3 separate regions of the Homo sapiens genome follow, and all the other regions are linked to region 3. Evidence: promoter capture Hi-C in 16 types of primary human blood cells and fetal thymus (Javierre and others, 2016). All regions are on one chromosome and are shown on one strand. Each heading gives the region's core, a stretch centred on a gene start or on the middle of the fragment in contact. The rest is flanking DNA. Distances are from core to core; before and after follow the strand shown. Region 1 overlaps MRPS23 (mitochondrial ribosomal protein S23). Region 2 overlaps OR4D2 (olfactory receptor family 4 subfamily D member 2). Region 3 holds the start of SRSF1 (serine and arginine rich splicing factor 1).

Region 1 (3,758 bases), core at 1,011-3,510, 170 kb before region 3:
ATGGTCAAGTGATTTCTCTAAAGCCATGGCCACAAAGGAGTGCCAGCGTCAGGATTTGAATCCAGTCCTTTTGACTGAGACTTAGAGAGGAAAGAGGTCAGAGCCCTTCCCCTGTAACCCACCTGGGTGGCACCCTTAGCTCTGTGCTCCTCTGGCCTCACATCCCAGGTAATTCAAGGCAGAGGGGCCCACCATACACTGGCAGACCACCAGGGTAAAATAAAGTGGGAGGGTAGGAAGGTCAAGGATAGATCTTTCTGGTCCTCTAGGCCTCATCCTCACCCTGCCCACCATTTCTGCCCTGGCACCCACTGCCTCCCCATGCCCTTCATAGGGAGAAGCTCCAGAAAGAGTTTCAGAAACTCCTAATTGCTGACTAGCCCCAGGTCCCCAAAACAATGGCTCTGATGTTGGAACTATTTTCCCTGGCCGGGCCTCTAGGTAGTGACCCTCTGGCTTTCCTCCATAATCTGGGGCAAAGAGGGTGGAGAAAGAAAGCAGAAAAGTGTGCTGAAAGGAAGGCAGTTGGGGGGAGTGTAGAGGGGCAGCAAGGAGGCAGAAAAGGGCCGGGCATGGTGGCTCATGCCTATAATCCCAGCACTTTGGGAGGCCAAGGCGGGAGAGTCGCTTGAGGCCAGGAATTTGAGACCAGCCTGAGCGACATAGCATAGAGACCCTATCTCTACAAAAAAATTAAAAATAAAAAATTAGCTTGGCATAGTGGCATGCACCTGTAGCCCTAGCTACCTGGGAGGCTGAGGCAGGAGGACCACTTGAGCCCAGGAGGTTGAGACTGAAGTGAGCTATGATTGCACCACTGCACCCCAGCCTGAGTGACAGAGAGAGACTTTGTCCCTATTTTTAAAAAAAGGAAGCAGGAAAGAAGAAACAGAATGAGTGTCATTGAGTGTCATTTAAAATGTTGGTTTCTACACACACGCTTGCCCACAGGCATACACAATCCAAGAAGTTACTAAATAAATGCACATTTTCCAGTGAAACCTACCAGCATGGGATAAGTTCCAAAAGCGGATAGTTCCCAAGATGTTCTCTAGTTTCCTCCTTTGTTGTTGTTGTTGTAGTTGTTTTTTAATTTGATTCATTTACTTGGTGCTAGAAGTTTGGAAGGAGATAAAGGACAGAGTAACTACTGGGGGTGGGGGATAGAGAAAGCTGTGTTTAGACGAGTGGCTGGTGAAAGAGGACACAATACCGTTTCTTCTCAATGTTAATCTAGCGCATGTTAATTCCTCCCCACCCAGTGGGAATCGACAGTGGCTGAAAGCCTTCTAGGCACTGACAGCAAAGACGGAGTACTCGCCAAGAACTTTGTTCACGTTCTCATTCAGTCCTCACAGCAACTTAGTGAGGTAGACGTTGTTACCCTTGTTTTACAGATAAGGAAATTGAGGTTCAGACGGTTCACTAACTCCCCTAATGTCACCAGACAAAGCAACAGATCAGGGTTTCAAACCCAGGTCTGTTCTCCAAGGCCTGGGTTTTTTCCGCTGCTCTGCCTCCCTGCCTGCACTGTTCTCTCTCCCGCTGTCCTCCACAGCAAATTCGCAGATGTGTCATTGACTGGAGAAGGTTAGGAAACACTGCTCTGGGCAGAGTCTCCAGGGGCTCAGCGCAGTAAGCTCCTTCCTCTCCAGCTCCTATTATGGTGCAAACAGTGCCGCTTCCCCGGCAGGCCTTTGTCATTTGTCCCGTGGCCTGTCCCCTCCCATCTCTACCCCATCCCAGTAGCACCCCAGGACCTCAGCTTCCTAAATTTCAGCCACAACATTATTTTTACAAGGACACTCTTCAACCTTGAAAGGCAAGGTACCCCGAGGCAAGGAAACGAAATGACTGTAGTTGAACAGCATGAGAGTCCAGCGCCATCTAGTGGTGCTGAAACCGACAAGTCCCTGGCGGTGACATTTTCAAATAATCAATATCTCATTATTAACCATAATCACAACCTGATGTTTACTTTTGGAGAAATGTTCAGCAGCAAGGGATGCACATGCACTTTTCTGCATGTTTCAGAGGCCTGCGATCCTAAATGCCACAATGACTATTAAACAGTGTCCTGCCCATGAGCAAACAGGAGAGATTGATTGTATATCTTTTTCATCTAAGCTGCTCACCAAAAACAAAGCTCAGTTGAAGCCAGTGACCTTTCACTAACTGCTGGAAGGAAAATGCTTGATAAATAATAAATAGACCACTACTGGATCTTGCTTAGAACTATCTTTTAATTAAAAGAACTGAGGAGCTAGAAGGTCCGGTGACTGACATTTATTTCAGTTGCAGTCCAGGAAAAGCATTCATTGAGGGTAAAATGATACTTGAAATGTATTTTCGTTGTCAGCTAGTATTCCCCAAAAACCCTGTCTGTAATCTGCATGGATGGAGGGTGGTGGTGGTGGCTGGCAGTAGCAACATTTTGTAGGGAACATAACACTTAACTTCCTGCCTTCTCTGCCTTCCCCTAGCAACCTTTTCTTTTTCGTGCTGCAGCAATAAACACTTGTCTGGTTCAGCATCACCACAGAAACTGCTTCAGTGCCGGGCTCATCCAATCAGAGACCCGCCTGCCACATTGAGCGCTACCCTAGGAGTGACAGGAAAGCCATTTCCCGTCTTTTCCACAGGAGGGCAGGTGCCCTTCCTCTGCCAGCCAAGGTGACCTCGACCAAGTTGCTCACTGAACCTGCTCAGCCATCCCTCATCTCACCCAGCACGGTCAAAGGCTCAGAACGCATGACTAACTTAGCCCGAGTCAGGCTCCCACCTTTTGGCTATTCTAGAATTGAGCTCAGAACATAGAGACCAGGAAGTCTCAGCCTTCCCCATCCCCTCCTCCACTCACCTTTGCTTGCTCCTAGCTCCAGTCTTCTGGCTGAGGCCGTGCCAGCTTGCGTTGACTACCAGCACCACATCATGTTCTCTGCCCTAACTCCCATGTACTCAGGAAAACTGCCAGCCCATTCTGAGTCAGGCTTGGTCACAAATGAAAGCTGAGGATGGATGAGGCCCAACTCCGGGTGCCACGTCTGGATTCCCCGGAGCAGAGGCAGGCACCAGTGCCAGCCTCAGAGAAAATCTTACTGTCCCACTTGAGTGACTTTGTTTAAAAAAAGAAATCTGCTGAAGGTTTTTAAGTGGCACGCCATCATTTATTTACAGAGAAAGGTATCACTTTAACAAAATCAGGAGTCCTTCGGGGGCAGATTATTCTGTAATACCACTTTCATTATCAGAGAACTCTCGATACAAAGTGTTCTACAAAACTACAAGAAGAATCAGGCTAGCCTTTTAAGGACATCATCAAAAATCAGGCCTACCCAATAAAGGCAGAGGCAGAGCTCTATAAAATTTGGTGAATCCAGGACCACTTAAACAAGTCAGACATATAGATGATGGAAGACATGGGACGTGAATTTCTTTTGCTGGCTTTCTCATTCCTCCTATTCTATCACTTAAAGCATTTACCTGCCAGCCCCCAACATCCCAGATCTCTCCCCACTACCCTTGGAGAGCTCATTTCTTCTCCTGGCTCCAAATCTTGCCCCTGTAGACACCTATCCCTTATCTCTGTCTGCCACTTAGATATAGCACCATCACCTTCAACTTAGTAGGTTGAGAATTGAAGCTCTCTCCCAGGAGAGCACCAGTTCCACGTCACCAACTGGGTGTTAGTGATGCTGCTAAGTTTTCTAGTCACTCAGGTTTGTGACCTTGGACTTGCTGCCTCCTTTTTGGTCCCT
Region 2 (3,928 bases), core at 841-3,340, 170 kb after region 3:
CTTCCTTTTCACCTTCTTGGTGGACAGTTTCCTGTTGACAGCATTTCCCCTGTGCGAACATTTCTATTTTCCGTATTTTGAGCTCTCTTCCCAATATTTCCTTTTGGTGTGAGTCTGGGTTGTTGGGAACAGCACAGAATTTGGAGTCTTAAGCTCTAAATTAGAGGCCCTGACCCATCATTGACCAAACTGATGACTTCGAGTAAGCCACCCAGCTTTTCTTGGCCTCATGATTTCTCCCTCACCAATTTGCTTAAATTAGTATGTGCCCCTAAAATATTCTATGTTTGTTATGAGATTCAAATAAAAAAATTTTGTGATAAAACAACAAGTAAATCATATAACTATATGTTATCTTCCAAGCTTTTAAAAATGATTGTATTTTATTTTCAAATATGAAATTATTATGAGTATTCAAGCTTTTTCTCTCTATATTTACATTTTAATATAATATACAAATTTTGAATAAAAGATCATGGGCAATGCATGCACATTATGAAACTTATGTCATTATGTATAAATGCTCATGTATACACTACTCGATTCAAGAACCAGAAGTTACCAATAACTTGCCTTCACCTGTATTGTCCTCTCCATTGTGTTCACCTTGATTCCTATCCAGAAGAAATCACTCTGTTGAATTTCATGTTTATCACTTCATTGCTTGTATAAAATAGTTTCATCACTTTTTTTACATAAACAGTATATTGTTTTGCTACTTTGGAGTTTTATAAAGATATTGTACTGTACATAATATTCTGGGATTTGCTTTTTTCACTCCATGTTATGTTTCTAACATAACATGTTGATGTTTGGCTCTAATTCATTCATTTGCTCTGCTGTAGAATATTCCACTGTGAAAATAAGTTTATTTGGGTTGTTTCCAGGTTTTGGCTATTGGAGAGTGCTTTTTTTGAGACGAAGTTTCACTCTGCTGCCGAGGCCGGAGTTCACTCATCACCACACCCAGCTAAGTTTTGCATTTTCAGTAGAGATGGGGTTTCTCCATGTTGGAGTTGTGACCATTATTGCCTAAACTATTTTTACTGCGCCTTTCTCTCCTCTTCTTCCAGGATTCTCATTATGTGTGTGTCTTGGTATCCTTGATGGTGTCTCACAGGCTTCTGAGCCTATGTTCATTTTCGTTTATTCTTCTTTTTGCTCCTTAGACTGGATGATTTCAATTGACCTATAATATCTCTAGACCTCTGATTCCGAAATGCCATCATAGAGGAAAATTGGATTCACTCCCCGACTTCCACAGAACCAAAAACAAATATATAGCACTGAGATCTACACCAGAAACAACCCAGAGCTCAAGTATAAGAGTGAGACAGTTCTTGGGGCCACAGAGGGATGAAAAAAGTCCAAGCAGCTGATAGGAGAATCAGACTTCCACATCTGGGACACCCCTCATCCCCATTCTGTCCAGCACCAAGTGCCAAAAAATCTCCTCCCAACTACAGTTTCTACACTGGAAAAACTGAAATTGAGGTGGCCCACCAGCTTCCTTACCTTCTTGGGGTCCCTGGCAGGAGAACTGTTCTTGCCTTAATCCACAGATAGCATCATGACTGCCTGAAAGAAGAAATGTCCCCGAAGAAAGGCAGAGAAATTCTGCTCTGTAACTCAGCCAAAGGAGACACCAACTCAGAGTTGCTGTCCAGCAGCACCATGCTGTAGGAGGCATGTTCCCCAGGTCCCCTGGGCACAAACCCCTAGCCAGACTTCCCACACTGCCAGGATAATCTCTTTGGGATCTCCTTGATTTGAGACAGGAAGTGCTTCAACCATTTACTAGTCCTGAGGTGAACCTGGGCTTAAGGCACCACCTAGAGTCGAATAGAGGCAGTGACCTAGCAGTGAAGATTCAATAAGCAAATGTATTCAATAAAAACCAAAACAAGCTGTACAGAGAAAACTGGAAAGATGGATACATACCCACAAGAAACAACAGCAAACAGGGAACTATGACTTCCTCAAAAGGAAAAAGCAAAAATCCAGTCACTGATCCTAACAAGATGGTGATTAGTGAGCTCTCTGACCAAGAATTCAAAATAGGAGTTTCAAGGAAACTCACTGATCTCCAAGAAAACACAGAAAAGCAATTTAGAAATTTAACAAAGAGACTGAAATGATTCCAAAATGTCAAACAGAAATCTTGGAACTCAACTAACCTATCTTCAGATTCATTGATTTTATTTTTATTTTTTAAGACAGTCTCACTCTGTTGCCCAGACTGGAGTGCAATGGTGTGATCTTGGCTCACTGCAACCTCCGCCTTCCAGTTTCAAGCAATTCTCCTGCCTCAGCCTCCTGAGTAGCTGGGGCTACAGGCGCGTGTCACCACACCCAGCTAATTTTTGTATATTTAGTAGAGACAGGGTTTTACCATGTTGGCCAGGCTGGTCTTGAACTCCTGACCTCGTGATCAACCCGCCTCGGCCTCCCAAGGTGCTGGAATTACAGGTGTAAGCCACCAGGCCCAGCTGATTCTTTCTTCTACCTACTCGAAAGCTCCTATTGAAACCGTCCTGTGAACTTTTCATTTCAGTTACTTTTATTGTACTTTTCAGCTCCAGACTATTTCTTATTTTAAATCAATTTCTCTCTCTTTTTTGATATTTTCTATGTAAAACATTCTTCTTCCTTTAATTCTTTACCCATAGTTTACTCTATGTTCAAGAAAGTTGCTTTAAAGTCTTTGTCTAGTTAAGTCAAATGTCTGTTTTTTCTCAGGAAGTTTCTGCTAATTTCTTTTCTTCCCTTGAAAGGGCCATACTCTCTTGTTTGTTTGCATGTCTCATAATATTTTGTGAAAACCGCACATTTTAAATATTATAATGTTGTAGGAGTGGAAATAATTTTCTTCCTGCTCCCTATTATTTGTTGTTTTTTCTTGCTGTGAGTTGCAGTTGTTTGTTTAGTGACTTTTAAAACTTTTTTTTTTGTCAAATATGGCCTCTGAAATCTGTTTCCTTAGTTCATAGTCATCTAATGGCTTTACAGTAACTTTGTTAAATGCCTGTAGACAAATGATATGGCTTGGACCTGTGTCCCATGAAATCTCATGTGGAATTATAATCCCCAGTGTTGGAGGTGATGCCTGGTGGGAGGTGATTAGATCATGGGGATGAATTTCTCACGAATAGTTTAGCACCATCCTTCCCTTGGTACTGACCTTGCAATAGTGTGTGAGTTCTCATGAGATCTGGTCATTTAAAAGTGTGTGGTGCCTCCCTCTTACTCTCTCTTCCTCCTGCTCCAGCCATGTGAAGTGCCTGCTCCCACTTCACCTCCCACCATTATTGTAAGTTTCCTGAGGCCTCCCCAGAAGCCAAACAGATGCCAGCATTATGCTTCCTGTACAGCCTGCACAATCATGAGCCAATTAAACCTCTTTTCTTTATAAATTACGAGTCTTAGTCTCAGATATTTCTTTATAGCAATATGAGAATGAACTAATACAACAAAGAAATGAAAAAGAAAGAAAATATACTCTCCCAGTCTTTCCAGATTGGCTCTGTGTTTGGATACTCCCTCAACACTTAACAAGGATGTTTACAGCTCTGCCTTAGCCTTCACTTTCTGCTTGCATTGGGCCTAAAGATTAGCCAGAACTTATATCTTAGGACTGTCCCAAGTCTGTGTTTTCATCCTGCCCTTATATGCAGAATGTGGCATTCTAGATTTCATAGTATATACAGGAACTTTCCAAAGTTCTTATTCACCAAAGTATCTCTGTTCCTAACTTTTCCTCTCAAGCTTTTGGTGTGTGTTTGATTGCCCCAGGTGGCAGAGGCGTGCTCATTTGATTTTCAGTGTTTTTGAGGAATACTTTTTACGTAGCCACTTTTCTGCCCATAGTGAATTCTGAGTTAGGTAAAACAAAGGCAAGCTCCTCACATCAGTCCTTCAGGAACCCCCA
Region 3 (4,100 bases), core at 539-3,038:
CTGCTTCTCCTTGGGGAGTAACTGCGACTCCTGCTGTTGCTTCTGCTACGGCTTCTGCTACGACTACGGCTTCGAGATCGAGATCTTCCATAACTTGGACTTCTGGGCCCATCAACTTTAACCCGGATGTAGGCAGTTTCTCCCTATTGGATAGACAGAACTTTCCATTGAAAGATCTAAGCTTTCATCTATCTTCAGACATGCTGAATGAATACAATGTAACTAAAACCAGAAATCTGGCAATTTACTTGGACAACCTTGCCTGAATCCTTACCTTGAAATTCCACTGTTAAGACCACTGTATCCAATTCTGGTCAAAGAAAAGAATACGTGTATAACCTACCTCATGAGATCTAAACTTAGTGTTATCCAGTTTTCGAACTGCATAGGTCATATCTTCTTTCCGTACAAACTCCACGACACCAGTGCCATCTCGGTAAACATCAGCATAACATACATCACCTGCTTCACGCATGTGATCCTTTAAATCCTGCCAACTTCCACTTGGAGGCAGTCCTGAAAAAGTGATTTTTTTTTTCTTAGTACCAATTATCTTAAATTTCACGTTAAGCTGGTAAGGTACATTAGGACAAAGAGTACTTTAAAGTACTTAATAGGTGTACTTAAGTGATACCAGGTAAAGAGAGCTGGTAAGATTCTGGAATCCAGAGTCCAAAATTATTTGTAACGATCTTCGTATCTAGTACCGCAACCTAATTTGGTAAATCACCACAGCAGCAATCCTCGTTTATTAAATTCACCCAAAAACTAAAGCAATTTAAGACCTAGCATGAAAAATTTGCAATTATTAAACCTGTCACGCAAGAGAAAAATTTTAGGTAGTTTTCGTCCCTTCACATCAATCCACACAACCAGTACACTCACCAGAGACAACCACTCTGTTTTCAGACCGCCTGGATGGGGGGCCATAGCGACCTCGGGGAGCTCCGCCACCTCCACCCCCGCCGCCGCCTCGGCCTGTTCCACGGCCGCTTCGAGGAAACTCCACCCGCAGACGGTACCCATCGTAATCATAGCCGTCGCGACCATACACCGCGTCTTCCGCGTCTCTGCGGGATCGCAGAAAGTAAAAGGGATGAGAAACACCAGGAGGAGAAGCTCGCTCAGTTGGGAACCAGCAAACCCCCCGCACATGCGCACCCAACGTGGAAGAGCCCACATGCGCCGCATAATAGGAATGGCCCCTCCCCCACCCAGAAACACGCCAGGCTCCCAACCACTACACCAGCCCTCAGCGCCTCAGTTTCCCGCTCCAGCCTGCGAATGGGCTCCGGGGACGTCCAAGGCGAGGCGCCAGAGAAGCCACATCAACTCAGCTCCTTACTCGACTCCTGCATGGGCGATACAGTCTCGCCCCAACCTCTCTAAGAGCCCCCGCTTCCCCGTTCTCTATGTTAAGGCCTTGGAGCCTTCCCCAACTACTCGGACCTATTTCCTCAAGGCTGCAAGCCCCATGCCGCCTCACCGCGGGTCCTCGAACTCAACGAAGGCGAAGGGCGGTCCCCCGCGGCGATTCTTGAGGTCGATGTCGCGGATAGCGCCGTATTTGTAGAACACGTCCTCAATGTCCTTGGTTCGGATGTCTGGAGGTAAGTTACCCACGTAGATGCGGCAATCGTTGTTCCCTGCGGGGCCACGAATCACACCACCTCCCGACATGGCGGTGACGAAAAGCGCGGACTCGAGAACAGGCCTTCCCACCAAGCCTAGCGCACGGCAGAGCGAGCCCGCAGCGGCACCACGTCTCCCGCGGCCCCTCCAAAATGGCGCCTTTATCAGCTCGGCGCACGGATATGGGGGGGAGACAGAGGAAGAGAAGCGGAAGGAAACAGCGATTCGATCCCAACACGCACGCGCGGGAGCGCAACGGGTGCTGCGAGGGCTACGTTCAGCGCACGCGCACGCACGCGCGACGTCACCCTCCCCACGAAGGGGGTAAAAAAGTCCCCCGCGTTCCCAGCTTGGGGTGGTTTGCGAACAGAGTGACCAGCCGTTTGGTAAAAGTTAAATAACGAACTTTCGTTAAAGGAGCTAGTCATCCAGGTCGGGTCTTGAAGGATGGTCGATTTCTCCAGGAATGAGGATCTTTGAAAGCAACTCGGCGCCTTCAAAGCACTTGGTGAAACCTAGCCTAAAGCGTTGTCCCACCATGCTCTGCGGCGATAACGGCCTTTGGCGGGAAAGAGTCTCGGAGGCGGGGCCAAAGGGGGACGGCCCGGGCGGTTGCTCCGGAAACCCGGGTATCTTCGTAGGGTGCGTCTAATCCAGAGCTGAGTTGCGGGTGATTGAACGGAGAGCTGGGGCGTTGGTTTGTCTTCCCGCCCCTGCTGCGAATAGACCGTGGCTGCTTAGACAGATGTGTCTAATTTAGCGAAACCGATTTAGATTCCTTAATCCTCTTCATTAAGTACCGTTCCGCCTTCTCGTCAGAACTTTGCATAGCTCGGGTCAGCACTCCTAGTGCTAGTCGCAGTGGGTCCGTATCCCGACCGGCAACGTGGTACCCGCCAACCAGAAGGGGTAACACCGTACCGCCTATGGGACCCACACCTTTTTATCTCTTGTTAGTCGCCTGTCCGTGGGACTAGCGCAGAATGCCTGCAGAATGAATCGTTTCTGTTGTTTCCTTTCAAAGAACGAGAAGGAAGAAAGGGTGCGTGTGTGCAGTCCTTTTTTCAAAAGTTTTCCCTAAAAGTTACTGATACACCAGGTTTTGAAAATACCGGTCCTCTCAGGTAATAAAATGGAGCAAAATGGATGTGAGAACCGTAACCACTAGATACCGCGGTTGCTATTCAGGACTGTGATCCTGTTTGCCTGCGGCATTGGGAGATAACATTTTACATTTTTTTTCGACGTCTGAAATCTGGATTTTTATGTGAAATCCTGGGATTTTTAAACGTCGCTAATGAATTAAAATTCAAATCAGGCTGGGCGCGGTGGCTCACGCCAGCACTTTGGGAGGCCGAGGCGGTTGGATCACTTGAGGTCAGGAATTCGAGACCAGCCTGGCCAACATGGTGAAATCCCGTCTCTACTGAAAAAACAAAAAATTAGCCGGGCTTGGTGGCAGGCGCCTGTAATCCACTCTACGCGGGAGGCTGAGGCAGGAGAATCGCTAGAACCCTGGAGGCGGAGGTTGCAGTGAGCTGAGATGGCGCCATTGCACTGCAGCCTGGGCTACAGAGTGAGACTCCTCCAAAAAAAAAAAAAAGGAGGGGGAAACAACAACAAATTAAAATCAAACCCTGCAGTCATAAATTTGCCATAACAGATCTACACACTGAATTTAAGGGATAATTTTCTTCATGTTATTTATTTACAGTAGTCCCTTTCCGCAAGGATGTGAGGCAACTTACAGAGATACCATAAAACATGAAAACTAGATGAGGCTGGGCGTGGTGGCTCACTCCTGTAATCCCAGCACTTTGGGAGGCCGAGGCGGGCGGATCACCTGAGGTCAGGAGTCGGAGACCAACATGTCGAAACCCGTATCTTCTAAAAATACAAAACATTAGCTGGGTATGGTGGCGCGTGCCTGTAATCCCAGCTACTCGGTAGGGTGAGACAGGACAATCTCTTGAACCCTTAGGAGGTGGAGGCTGCAGTGAGCGGAAATCACGCCACTGCACTCCAGCCTGGGTGACAGAACAAGACTCCATCTCACACACACACAAAAAAAATGCTAGAGTAAGAAATCAGAGGAATGGGAAAATGAGGGGTGGATTAAATGAAATACGCATAAATTACTATACAAAATGCCTGCAGTGAAAGCCCGTTGAATTTGTTGAGATAGATTGCAAATTTTACTTTAGTCTTCCCAGAAGTCACGGTAAAGAAGGGTACAGAAGTATTGTGTATTCAAAATCCAAAGTGCCTTTGGGATAAAAGTAAATAGGTCATTCAGGAGAAGGACATGTTTTCTTAATTCTAAAAGCTGATGAAATATATTTTACAAATGTTTCTCGGTGACCCCAAAATACAAATTCAATTTGAAATGAGCAGGGATGCTTGGTCTTGTGGCCGTAGATCCTCGGTATATCTACAGATGACCTTTGGTAATCCTTGAGCTTTCTGTA

The links. The method cuts DNA at HindIII sites, captures the fragments that hold promoters and counts their contacts. A CHiCAGO score of 5 or more calls a contact.
Region 1: a fragment that was not itself captured here is called in contact with the fragment with the promoter of SRSF1 in region 3 in 2 of 17 cell types (neutrophils and monocytes); the score reaches 9.9 in neutrophils.
Region 2: a fragment that was not itself captured here is called in contact with the fragment with the promoter of SRSF1 in region 3 in 2 of 17 cell types (naive CD4 T cells and total CD8 T cells); the score reaches 5.1 in naive CD4 T cells.

Annotation. Positions count from the first base shown.
Region 1 is chr17:57,831,636-57,835,393 of GRCh38, forward strand. It overlaps MRPS23 (mitochondrial ribosomal protein S23), which reads right to left. Exons shown (of 5, transcript NM_016070.4): 5 at 3,146-3,758. Among named protein-coding and RNA genes, the nearest start is that of MRPS23, 17 kb to the right of the region's middle. RefSeq lists enhancers at 1,117-1,628, 1,629-2,139, 2,308-2,808. The HindIII fragment of the contact is 6,404 bases long and covers 1-3,758 here.
Region 2 is chr17:58,170,827-58,174,754 of GRCh38, forward strand. It overlaps OR4D2 (olfactory receptor family 4 subfamily D member 2), which reads left to right. Exons shown (of 2, transcript NM_001004707.4): 2 at 1-290. Among named protein-coding and RNA genes, the nearest start is that of OR4D2, 5.8 kb to the left of the region's middle. The HindIII fragment of the contact is 3,346 bases long and covers 418-3,763 here.
Region 3 is chr17:58,005,458-58,009,557 of GRCh38, forward strand. SRSF1 (serine and arginine rich splicing factor 1) reads right to left here and starts at 1,789. Exons shown (of 4, transcript NM_006924.5): 1 at 1,487-1,789; 2 at 886-1,070; 3 at 344-516; 4 at 1-143. The coding sequence starts at 1,680. RefSeq lists enhancers at 1-599, 931-980, 1,251-1,300, 1,424-2,142, 2,091-2,140. The HindIII fragment of the contact is 5,045 bases long and covers 180-4,100 here.